3 separate regions of the Homo sapiens genome follow, and all the other regions are linked to region 2. Evidence: promoter capture Hi-C in human tissues and cell types (Jung and others, 2019). All regions are on one chromosome and are shown on one strand. The core of a region is centred on a gene start or on the middle of the fragment in contact, and the rest is flanking DNA. Distances in the headings are between cores, read along the strand shown. Region 1 overlaps FOXL1 (forkhead box L1). Region 2 holds the start of MAP1LC3B (microtubule associated protein 1 light chain 3 beta). Region 3 overlaps MTHFSD (methenyltetrahydrofolate synthetase domain containing).

Region 1 (3,113 bases), core at 420-2,919, 810 kb before region 2:
GGTCACAGCTGGGTTTGTTCCTGACTTGAAGTTGTGGAGGTGCCGGGGGTGACCCCGGGTTTTCAGGTTTTCTGAGAGATGTAGGGCCCGATGAGGATTTATGACCAATGTTCAGCTATAGAAGCTGATAACCACCCAGAGCAATAACACTTTTATTTTAAACAGAGACTTTTTCTCTTAATTTCTTTCTGGGTAGTAAAAAGAACATGTTTCATTCTTTGCATAAATACTTGACTCTAAGCATTGACCTTTGAAAACGCTTGTATTAACAATTTTTATTAAGAAAGTGCACTCTATATAACATCTTCTTGCATTACGATAGCTCATTAGCCAATACACATGCAGCTATGTAAGCCACAACAGCAGACGTCCTATCCTTTTGCTTTTGTTTTTAAGGGATCAAAATATTTCAAGGGATACCATGAGGAAGGGTGTGAGGGGAAGGGGATATGCCTTGGACAATGTCAGAGTTTTGATTTCCATGTTTTTTCAAGATCCAGGCTTGGTGGTCGCTATATTTTTCAGAAACAGATAATGAAAGACTACATTTAATTTAAAAAGTTGGGTGAAACAACCAAAAGCAGATGCAGAGAGAGAGAGGGATGAATGCGGGGGAAGAATAAGGGGACGTGCTGGTGTCCGCTGGAAGGGGCCTCTCTGGGCCCCAGAGGACCTGAGGTTTGATGGCAGGAATCTCCCAGACACTCCTGGCCCCCGCACCCCCTGCAGCCGCCCGCTCTTCCCTCCCAGCCCTGCCAGGCAGGCCTGGAGGCTGATACTAAATCAAAACCTTAAAGAGGTGACTGGCAGTCTGGGGAGGGGAGAAGAGGTCTGCAACGAAAATCTAATTAAGAACATTGAGATGTTCACAACCAAGTTCAGCTTGCAGCTTCCGGGGAAATGCAACCGACCTCTATGCCATCTCTAGCTGGGTAATCTTCGAGGCCCTGAAATGCAATTTTCTGAACCTCTAAGTCACTTTTATTTTATGTCATGTGATAAAGACACAAGTAGTCACGCACTATTGGAAATAGGTTGGGAGGGAGGTCTTTAAGATCGCTTTTAAAATAGTTTCCAGGACTTGTCTAAAAATGATGACAAACTTTGAATCCAGAGGGCCTGTTGGTCAATGTGTTGGAAAGGACATTTCAGGCCGGCAGAGTAATTGGATAATTCACAGGCATAGAGGTGACTTTTGGAAAATTCATTCTCCTATCCATGCTGAACCAGGCTTCCACGACTGGGTTCTACCCAGGCCAGTGGGAAGACTCTGGGAAACTTCAGGCCAGCCTTGATTGGAAGAACTTCCAGGAGGAGCCATTGCTGAGATCCAGGCTCACTGTGATTCACTGAAAATGTAGCGAAAGGGCTGTCACTGGATATTTTGCTATCCCAAACTCTCAGCCTCTGTGAATAAAGTTGTTTTTTCATTAACCTCTCAGTGACTGGTTCAGTGGATTACTGGAGGGAAATAAACAAACAGTGTAATAAGAAAGAGGAGACTGGGATTATATCTGGGAGTCGTGTTAGCATCTCAGGAGGCTCTGGCTTCTGAGGGGTAAACACACAGATGGAGGGGAAGGAGTGGAGAGGATGCCGGGCCCAGGAAGCTGCCTCCATATCAGAAAGCACGATGAGTTAATTCTGCCGTATTGAATCGGTTTTTAATCTTTCCTTTTTCTTTTTTGTGTTTGTATGTTATCTTGGGAGGTTTTGTTAATTTGTGATGGCTATGTTTTGAAGAAGCAAATAATTTGATACTGCAGTTTTAAAAGGGTCGTATTTTAAAGTTACTATTCCAAAAAGTATTGTACGAATGTTACTTTTATGACACAGAAAAAATGCAGATGTATCCACTTTGTGTGTTTATACATGCATAAAGAGAAATTCTATTTAATCCCAACTTTTGTCTGGTTTAGAAAAGCTAAGACAAGTGGATACTGAGGTCGTTTTTATGTAATCTATATAATTGCATGTGTATTCCTTCCTCCTGAACCAAAAAGAGGAGGTTTGGGTCTTACCAATCCGAATAGCTGTTCTATTGATCCATATTTAATCGTTGGCTCAAAATTATGGCTCAATAAGGTCAATAGTTTCTGCTCTTAATTAAAACAAAATCTCAGCTATAATTAGGGTGAGCCAGAAGCAAGCTTATCATTGTACTCTTAGGCAATCTGAAGGAATACCTCTCTGCTCTCATCTAAACAAAGGGAACAGATCTGTCTTCTGTAAATGATCTTTGGTTCAAGCCCTGATTACACACACACACAAACAAATACCCACACACATATGAGTGCACTGATCATAATGAGGATATGGCAGGCACATGTTTGATAACAAAGTGTGTATACATATGTACACGTTTATATATATGTATATACATATATATACATGAATGTGTAGGGGTGTGTGTGTGTATTTGTTCTGTGTACATGAATGCTCATAAATGTATCTTTTTTGAATATACCTGAGACTCAGATCAAGTACTGAGTCCTTTCACTTTAACCCAAGTATTGATACTATTTGAAAGATTTTGTTTTTCTATATAGTTTTTAAAAATAGATAATAATTTCTATATAGCTTTAATAGTTTTGTTTCTCTATGTAGTATGAACCAGGGATAACTTTATTGTTCTGTGTTAGTATAGTGAAACTGACAGATTTTATTTAAACATCGCGGAAGACACCCGCTTTGAGAACTTTTCCCTCCGTTCACAAGGACAGAGAACTTTACAAAGGACTCTTGCTCTGCCTGGCCTCATCTAGTTGCTGGCTTTTCTAGAAACAAACGGCCTCCTGGGCCTCCAGTGAACCATAAGAGTTTTGAGAACCTGAATAGGACCTTCTTAGCCATTTTCAGATTTAATTGTGCCCGTTTGAATGGTGGTCTTCACCATTTCACTCAAAGTGGTGAGTGTATGCCCGTGTGTATGTTAAAGAATTAGCCACATATAATTATTGTTACAGCTGAAAGCCAGAGCCAGCCTGCCCAGACCCTGGCAGGTTAATGTTAACATCACAAAGGTAGGTGACGTTTCCAGTAACCAGCTGCACCCAGGAGTGAGAAAATAAGGGGAGAGCCATGATTTTGTGCACTTCCTGGCTTCATGGTGG
Region 2 (3,462 bases), core at 260-2,759:
GCTCAAGCGATCCTCCCAGCCTCTGCCTCCCTGAGAGCTGGGTTTACAGGCTTGGAGCCACCGCCCCCCGCTATTTTCATGTTTTGTATGATTCAAGCTTACAGTGTAGAGTGTATTAGCCTAATCCAATTACTTTATCCAATTGGGATAGAAGAAAGGCTTTTACAAAGTCAAAAGGAGAAATCCTGGAACTATGGGGCTCTTTCAAAGTATTAGATGTTAAAGAACAAAAACAGCCAAATAGCCGGGAGCAGTGGCTCACGCCTGTAATCCCAACTCTTAAGGAGGCCGAGGCGGGAGGGTTGCTTGAGGCCAGGAGTTCAAGACCAGCCCGGGCAACACAGCGAGATCCCGGCTCTACTCCCAGCTTCTCGGGAGGCTGAGGCAGGAGGATCCCTTGAGCCCAGGCGACCGAGGCCGCCGCGAGCTATGATCGTGCCACTGCATTCCAGGCTGGGCAACAGAGCAAGACCCTGTCTCAAAAAAACCCCAAAGAATCTAGTGCTGTTCCTACAGAGACACATTGGCCACAGGCTGAGGTGGGCAATAGCAACCAAATATCGCATGGTGGTTTACGCACTGCAGCCCATTTGGAGTCCTCAAATATGACTGCCCTTTCACAGATGAGTCTGAGACTCAAAAACTGTCACTAGCGTAAGGTTGTCCAGCGAGTTTAGTGGCTGGGAGGCTGAGGGGTAGACAGGGCGGCTAGCGATGTGGGGCAGGCCTGGCAGTCGCCACAGACGACCTAACGGTAGGAAAATCTTACAGCCACCAGGAGAGTTCCAGGCGCCGCGGCAGGGGGACTGGGAGAGGGGACTGCGCCCAGAATGAAGGCTCGGGACAAAAGCAGTTGCGCAAACGCGCCAAGGCTGGGCGTCGAGTGACCGCGGGCGGAGGTCACCAGCGGCCACTCCCCGGAAGCCACCCACGGACCACGCGCGCCCCTGCACGCAGAGGGGGCCAGGGCTCCACGGGCGAGCGGCGACCCTGCCTCCCGGAGACGGCGCGGCCTGCCCTGCGCGCCTCAGCCCCGGGTGCCGGCGTCTCGGGCAGCACCACCAAGTCTCTCTGGAGGGGAAAGGATGGTCGGATTTGCCCCATGTCCCTTCCTCTGACCCCTCCCTCAAGAGTGCCCCGGGACACCCCGCCTGTGGCTCAGCCTCCCCCGCCCCGCGCTGCCATCTCCTCAGGGCCGGGCAGCAGGCTCCCGAGCGCCCACAGACCCGGGGTGCGGCCCAGCCCACAACCGTCACCTCAGGGGCCTCAGGCGCCCAGCGGTGCTGGGCGGGGCTGGGGCACGACCGGGAGCATGCGCAGAGCGCGCGTTTCGCCCATCGCGCACGCGCACACACCTGCTCCGCCCCCACGCTGCGTGCCGCTGCTGGGTTCCGCCACGCCCGTCATGGCGGCGGCCCCGGCCGGCTCTGGCCCCGCCCCTCGGTGACGCGTCGCGAGTCACCTGACCAGGCTGCGGGCTGAGGAGATACAAGGGAAGTGGCTATCGCCAGAGTCGGATTCGCCGCCGCAGCAGCCGCCGCCCCCGGGAGCCGCCGGGACCCTCGCGTCGTCGCCGCCGCCGCCGCCCAGATCCCTGCACCATGCCGTCGGAGAAGACCTTCAAGCAGCGCCGCACCTTCGGTGAGTGTCGCCGCGAGGGCGGCGGGTGCGGCGGGGCCGGGGTCCGAGCTGTGGAGGGCGGCAGGGCCTGGGACGCCGTGAGGGGTCGGGGCCGAGCCGGGAGGCCGAGCGGGGCCGGTGGCTGCCGGCCGGCGGGGCCGAGGGATGCGGGGCCCGGGGCCCCGTGAGGGACCCAGGCCGGGACCGAGCCGGGAGGGCCAGGGGCTGGTCTGGGCCGGGGCGGCCTGCGGACCTCTCGGAGGCCTGGGAGGAGGCAGCCGGCGGAGGGCGGGCGGGGGCCGGTGCGCTCGGGGCCCCGGGCCTGCTGAATCACCCCGCGCCCTCCGCGGCGGGGTGCCTGCCGTACCCCGGCCACCGCCGCCCCCGCAAGCGCGCTGCGGGCGAGGGTCGCGCTTCTGGGGCCCAACAGCCCCCGGGGCCGCGCTGGGCCGTTCGGCTCTGAAGCGGGGCTGCGCCGGGACCCAGCGCGTCACCTTCAGGGCTGGTTTTCCCGTCGAGGGAGCCCGCCCGGGTGCGAGTGCCTCTTACAGACCTCAGTGCCTCGGTCGAGAGGAGGGGAATGTGCTGGGCCCCGGCCTCGCCGCGCCCGGGACGGCCCACAGCGGTGTTGCCAGTTCCTGTCTGTAGCCCAGGAGCTGGGGTGGGAGACTTCTCTTGGGTTTGCGATTACGTTCTCACCTTGGCACCAGGAATACCGAATACATCCCTTTTCTGCCGGTTCAGACTGGAAACCCAGCTTAGGTGTGCTGGCATTTGGTTAAACGTGCAGGTGTCACCATCACAATATTTACTCCACGCAGATGATGCGAAGTGATTATTTCCCGCTTGAGCAAGAGAACGCCGCAGATCCAGGTATCTGTTGTTGCCTAAGTTCCAGACACCGGTTTGGAAGGGAAGCACCGTGTTCATCGCGGTGGACTGCGAATGCCTGCCGCCATCCTCGTCAGGAGCCCACACAGTGGTGCTGTTTGTCTGCTTTTGCCTAGTTTCCCGGAGTCTAGAAAGAGTTTAGCATTCATTTGAGTTTGGATATAGTTTTGCAGGTCTCATTGACCATTATTTTTTTTCTTATGCCTGAGAAACTTAAGCAAATTAAAATGGACCTTAGCTTGCCAAGCATATCTTTTCAGACAGCCTCTTGAGGCAGTCCGTTGGTTAGCAAGACTTACACGTGCCTTTTTTGTTAGTAGTTTTCTTGTTAGTCACCTTAATGAACTCTTTACTGTAGTGTCTAGGCTTATTGAGCCCTGAGAGCAGCATTAAAGACAGATTTTCTTTTCTTTTTTATTTTGAGACAGGGTCTCACTCTGTCACCTGGGCTGGAGTGCAGTGGTGCAATCACAGCCCACTGCAGCCTCGACCTCCCGGGCTAAAGCGATCCAGCGGCCCCCCTCAGACCTGGCTTCTGTTTTCACCAATGAAAAGTTAACTGGGAACATTTATGTAGGAGAGATGCCCTTTTTCTCATAACAGAAACTATAGTTATTTTCTTTTTTGCTTAGTACTTTTGGGTTATTCTGGAAAAGTCTCTGCGAAGAGTGGGTAGTAAGGGTAGGAAATGTGAGACTAACACATCCGAACAAGGAATTTCCTGGAACCTAAAAGTGGCCCTGAGGGTAGACCAGCAATAATGCCCCATTTTTTTCCCATTGATGTATGGACCTTGTATATACTGTATTTTCAGGGTTTTTTCCCTTGGCTCACCTTTATTTTGCCCCCTCCCCTTTAAATATCTCTTTAATAGTCACTTTGTAGAAATGTGTCAAATATCTTAACAGCTGTTACCTTTCCTTGCTTCTGATTTTGGTAATTAAAAAAAAA
Region 3 (3,234 bases), core at 570-3,069, 850 kb before region 2:
CGATAGGCTGGATAAAGAAAATGTGGTACATATACACTATGGAATACTATGCAGCCATAAAAAGGAATGAGAGCATGTCCTTTGCAGGGACATGGATGGAGCTGGAAAACATTATCCTCAGCAAACGAACGCAGGAACAGAAAACCTAGCACTGCATGTTCTCACTCGTAAGTGGGAGCTGAACAATGAGAACATATGGACACAGGGAGGGGAACAACACATACTGGGGCCTGTCAGGGCAGGGGCAGTGGGAGGGAGAACATCAGGTAAAATAGCTAATGCATGCTGGGCTTAATACTTAGGTGATGGGTTGGTAGGTGCAGCAAATCACCATGGAACACGTTTACCTATGTAACAAACCTGCACATCCTACACATGTATCCCGGAACTTAAAAAAAAAAGATATCTGTGTCTCACACGCATGCTACTATGTACAACGTCTACACTAGGAACTCCTAATGGGGCAGCTGGGAAGGAACAGGGAAGACTTATGGTGCAGCTTTCTGTGCTGTTCAATTTTCTAAGCAGACACATGGTTACTTTACTACTTTACACAGGGGGTTAGCTAAACGATGAAACTTACGAAGTGTTACTTTCTTCTTTATACATCCCTGAACCTGATGATATTTTCCAAGAGGGGACCTTTGCTGATTTCCCACCACCAAGAGCCCAAGTCCCATCATCTGGCCTCAAGGCTGCTGAGAAGGGGCCGCAACCTAGTAAAGGGCCTGCTGCCTGAGGACCCTTCAGTCCCCTCTGCCTGGACTGTGGCCGGCATGCAGGAGCCAGCCCTGAGGCCGCTACTGAGGAGATGCCCCCTCCAGGCTGGCACGTCCCTCCTCAGACTCCCCTTCCCCCTCCCGTCGGTCCTGACTTGTGTCCAGCACTGAGCACGTCACGTCCTGTCCTGGTCCAGCTCTCGTGTCTGGCCCACCCACACACCATGCACTTAAAGACCACCCAGTGCCTGCCTGGCACACAGCAGGTGTAGCAGGTATACCAGAACAGTGCGCTCCTGAGTCCCCAGCCCCGATGACACAGACGAAGCACCAGAAACTGGGAATGCACTGAAAGCAAAGAATAAAGAACAATGTCCCCACATCAGCTCCAGTGGTGGCTGGGAAAAGAGGGCACCCTGAAGCTGGAGACAGCAAGAGGTGGTGTGGTGACCCTGCCCTCTTAGCAAGGGCCCCCTGGCCTTGTGGACCGAGAGCAGCCTGCCTCACATGCAGCGTGGCAAAGCACCAGGCCTGAGAAGAAGTCTCGGACACACCACGTTGTTCAGGAGTCTCGGACACACCACGTTGTTCAGGAGTCTCGGACACACCGTGTTGTTCAAGAGTCTGCTGCTTCATAATAAAAACAAAGCTTGGAACCTACTGTTTTTCCATTTGCTGGAGTCCCTCCAAAACCAACTATTTACTGACATACTGAAAAGAAATTAAGCTCCAGCTCACTCAAGAACAGAGAGAAAACCTTTCACCACCTGAACAGAGAGTTATCTCACTTTGTTTTTCCTGCTAAGAAAAGTGAAAATGCTGTACACATGTTGGGCTGGGGCCAGAAGCGGGTGGGCTGAGCCAATTCTTCACCTCTGAAAAATGCAGCGGCTTCGGAGACCAGGTAAGCGCATCCAGAAAGCAGACACCACTGGCGACTTTTGAAAGACAAACAGCCTGGCACGCAGCCGCCTTCAGGCAGAGCTGTCACACTCAAGGGTTCCCATCTGCTAGTCTTACCTTTTTCAGAAACGGCGACGGATCCCACCACAACTAAATCCACGAGGACTCTGGAGTCCAAGCCTATGGGGACACTGTAGTTCCTCACACCCTGCACACAGAGATACGGATTGGAAAACTTCAACTCCAGCTGCTTCCTCATTTTATAATTCATGATCAAAGTGCACTCAGGGTTTGAATCAACCTCTTGGACAAAACAGATGCAGGCACACGCAACACCGGAGATGTGGCGTTTCAGGAGAAGCCGCATTCCAGAAACCGCTTTAGGGCACAGTTTCCCCAGTCTCTTTCCCAGAAAGGCGGCCAAGAGGAACTCACAGCACAAATTCATAGGCTGCCAACTTCATAACATTTAACAAATCGTTTTTCCCCATAAGGCAGAAGAGCACAGTGGTGAAAACACAGGGGCAGAGTCCCAGGGAACTGGGTTCAGAGCCTCTGAGCCACAGGTCCCCAGCAGGCTGGAGCTCTCTGAGCCTCAGTTTCTTCAGCTGTAAGACAGGGACACCACCCTCTGCCTCGTCGGACCAGTGTTGGAATTAAATAACAAAACGTATGCATTTAGCACATAAGACATGGTCAGTAAACACTGTATGACATATTTATTCAATATAAAATCCTGAAGGCCACTATCTTTATGTACAATATACTCGCTTCTAAAAAATTATCCCTTCAACCAAAATGTCCCAAAAGTGTACCGCTTTATACTAATGCAGGCATGCATATAAAGAATAGGGAAGCTGAATATGTTCATGGTTCTCATAACACGGTTTATGTAAGACTCAGGAAAAAGCCATTTTCAGTCCCGTATCCAGCAGTAACTGATCATTCGATGTGGCGGTGGGATCTGCCTGCAGTGCTATGACAAGTTCCGTATGGATCAGTGCATACGGGTGGCTTGGGGGTCTCCCGACAGTCACAGAAGGGGGCTTAGTCCAGGAAACCCTGCACTGCAGGAAACCCTGTGTTCTCATCATCTCGCAGGGTCCACGGGGGCAGGCACTGACCAACTGCAAAGGAAGAGACGGCTTGCATTTGTGAATGCTGACCATCACCATGCTTTCGTCTCAGTTTTCTATCTTTCTTTTTCCTTTGCTCCTTTCTCTCTCTATATATATATTTTTTACTTTATTGTATGTATTTTTAGAAACCATATCAAATTCTATTTTTGGAATAAGCAGGGTGCTAATAAGTAAACAATGAAACGTTCCAGTTTTATACATTAGGCTTAAGTGGCAAATCCCATAAAAAAGCGTATCTTCAATTGTCTTATTTTTTCTTCTCAGTAGATTAAAAATTAAATGACTTGGAGTTTACCTTAAGATTCTTAAAAAAGTCACCAAATTCGACTTAACTGTAAAATACATGACCAATTTTATTATAATGCACCCTAAAGTCATATTTGTACACTTGGTTTTACTAAATTGTGAGGCATTCAAGAAAATCTTAAATATGTAATTATCAGCAATTACTCACTTAGAACTGGTGAGGCAAT

The links. The method cuts DNA at HindIII sites, captures the fragments that hold promoters and counts their contacts. A contact is called where the count stands out against the background at its distance.
Region 1: a fragment that was not itself captured here is called in contact with the fragment with the promoter of MAP1LC3B in region 2 in 1 of the 25 tissues and cell types used here (dorsolateral prefrontal cortex).
Region 3: a contact is called between a fragment that was not itself captured here and the fragment with the promoter of MAP1LC3B in region 2, in 2 of the 25 tissues and cell types used here (liver and lymphoblastoid cells).

Annotation. Positions count from the first base shown.
Region 1 is chr16:86,580,258-86,583,370 of GRCh38, forward strand. It overlaps FOXL1 (forkhead box L1), which reads left to right. Exons shown (of 1, transcript NM_005250.3): 1 at 1-3,113. Among named protein-coding and RNA genes, the nearest start is that of FOXL1, 3.3 kb to the left of the region's middle. The HindIII fragment of the contact is 3,027 bases long and covers 157-3,113 here.
Region 2 is chr16:87,390,827-87,394,288 of GRCh38, forward strand. It overlaps MAP1LC3B (microtubule associated protein 1 light chain 3 beta), which reads left to right and starts at 1,510. Exons shown (of 4, transcript NM_022818.5): 1 at 1,510-1,641. The coding sequence starts at 1,602. It also overlaps a transcript of FBXO31 not described here. RefSeq lists enhancers at 468-1,426, 2,643-2,692 and silencers at 943-1,592, 1,613-1,782, 1,893-2,022. The HindIII fragment of the contact is 8,903 bases long and covers 1-3,462 here.
Region 3 is chr16:86,544,820-86,548,053 of GRCh38, forward strand. MTHFSD (methenyltetrahydrofolate synthetase domain containing) reads right to left here. Exons shown (of 8, transcript NM_001159377.2): 5 at 1,740-1,830. Among named protein-coding and RNA genes, the nearest start is that of MTHFSD, 8.8 kb to the right of the region's middle. The HindIII fragment of the contact is 8,046 bases long and covers 1-3,234 here.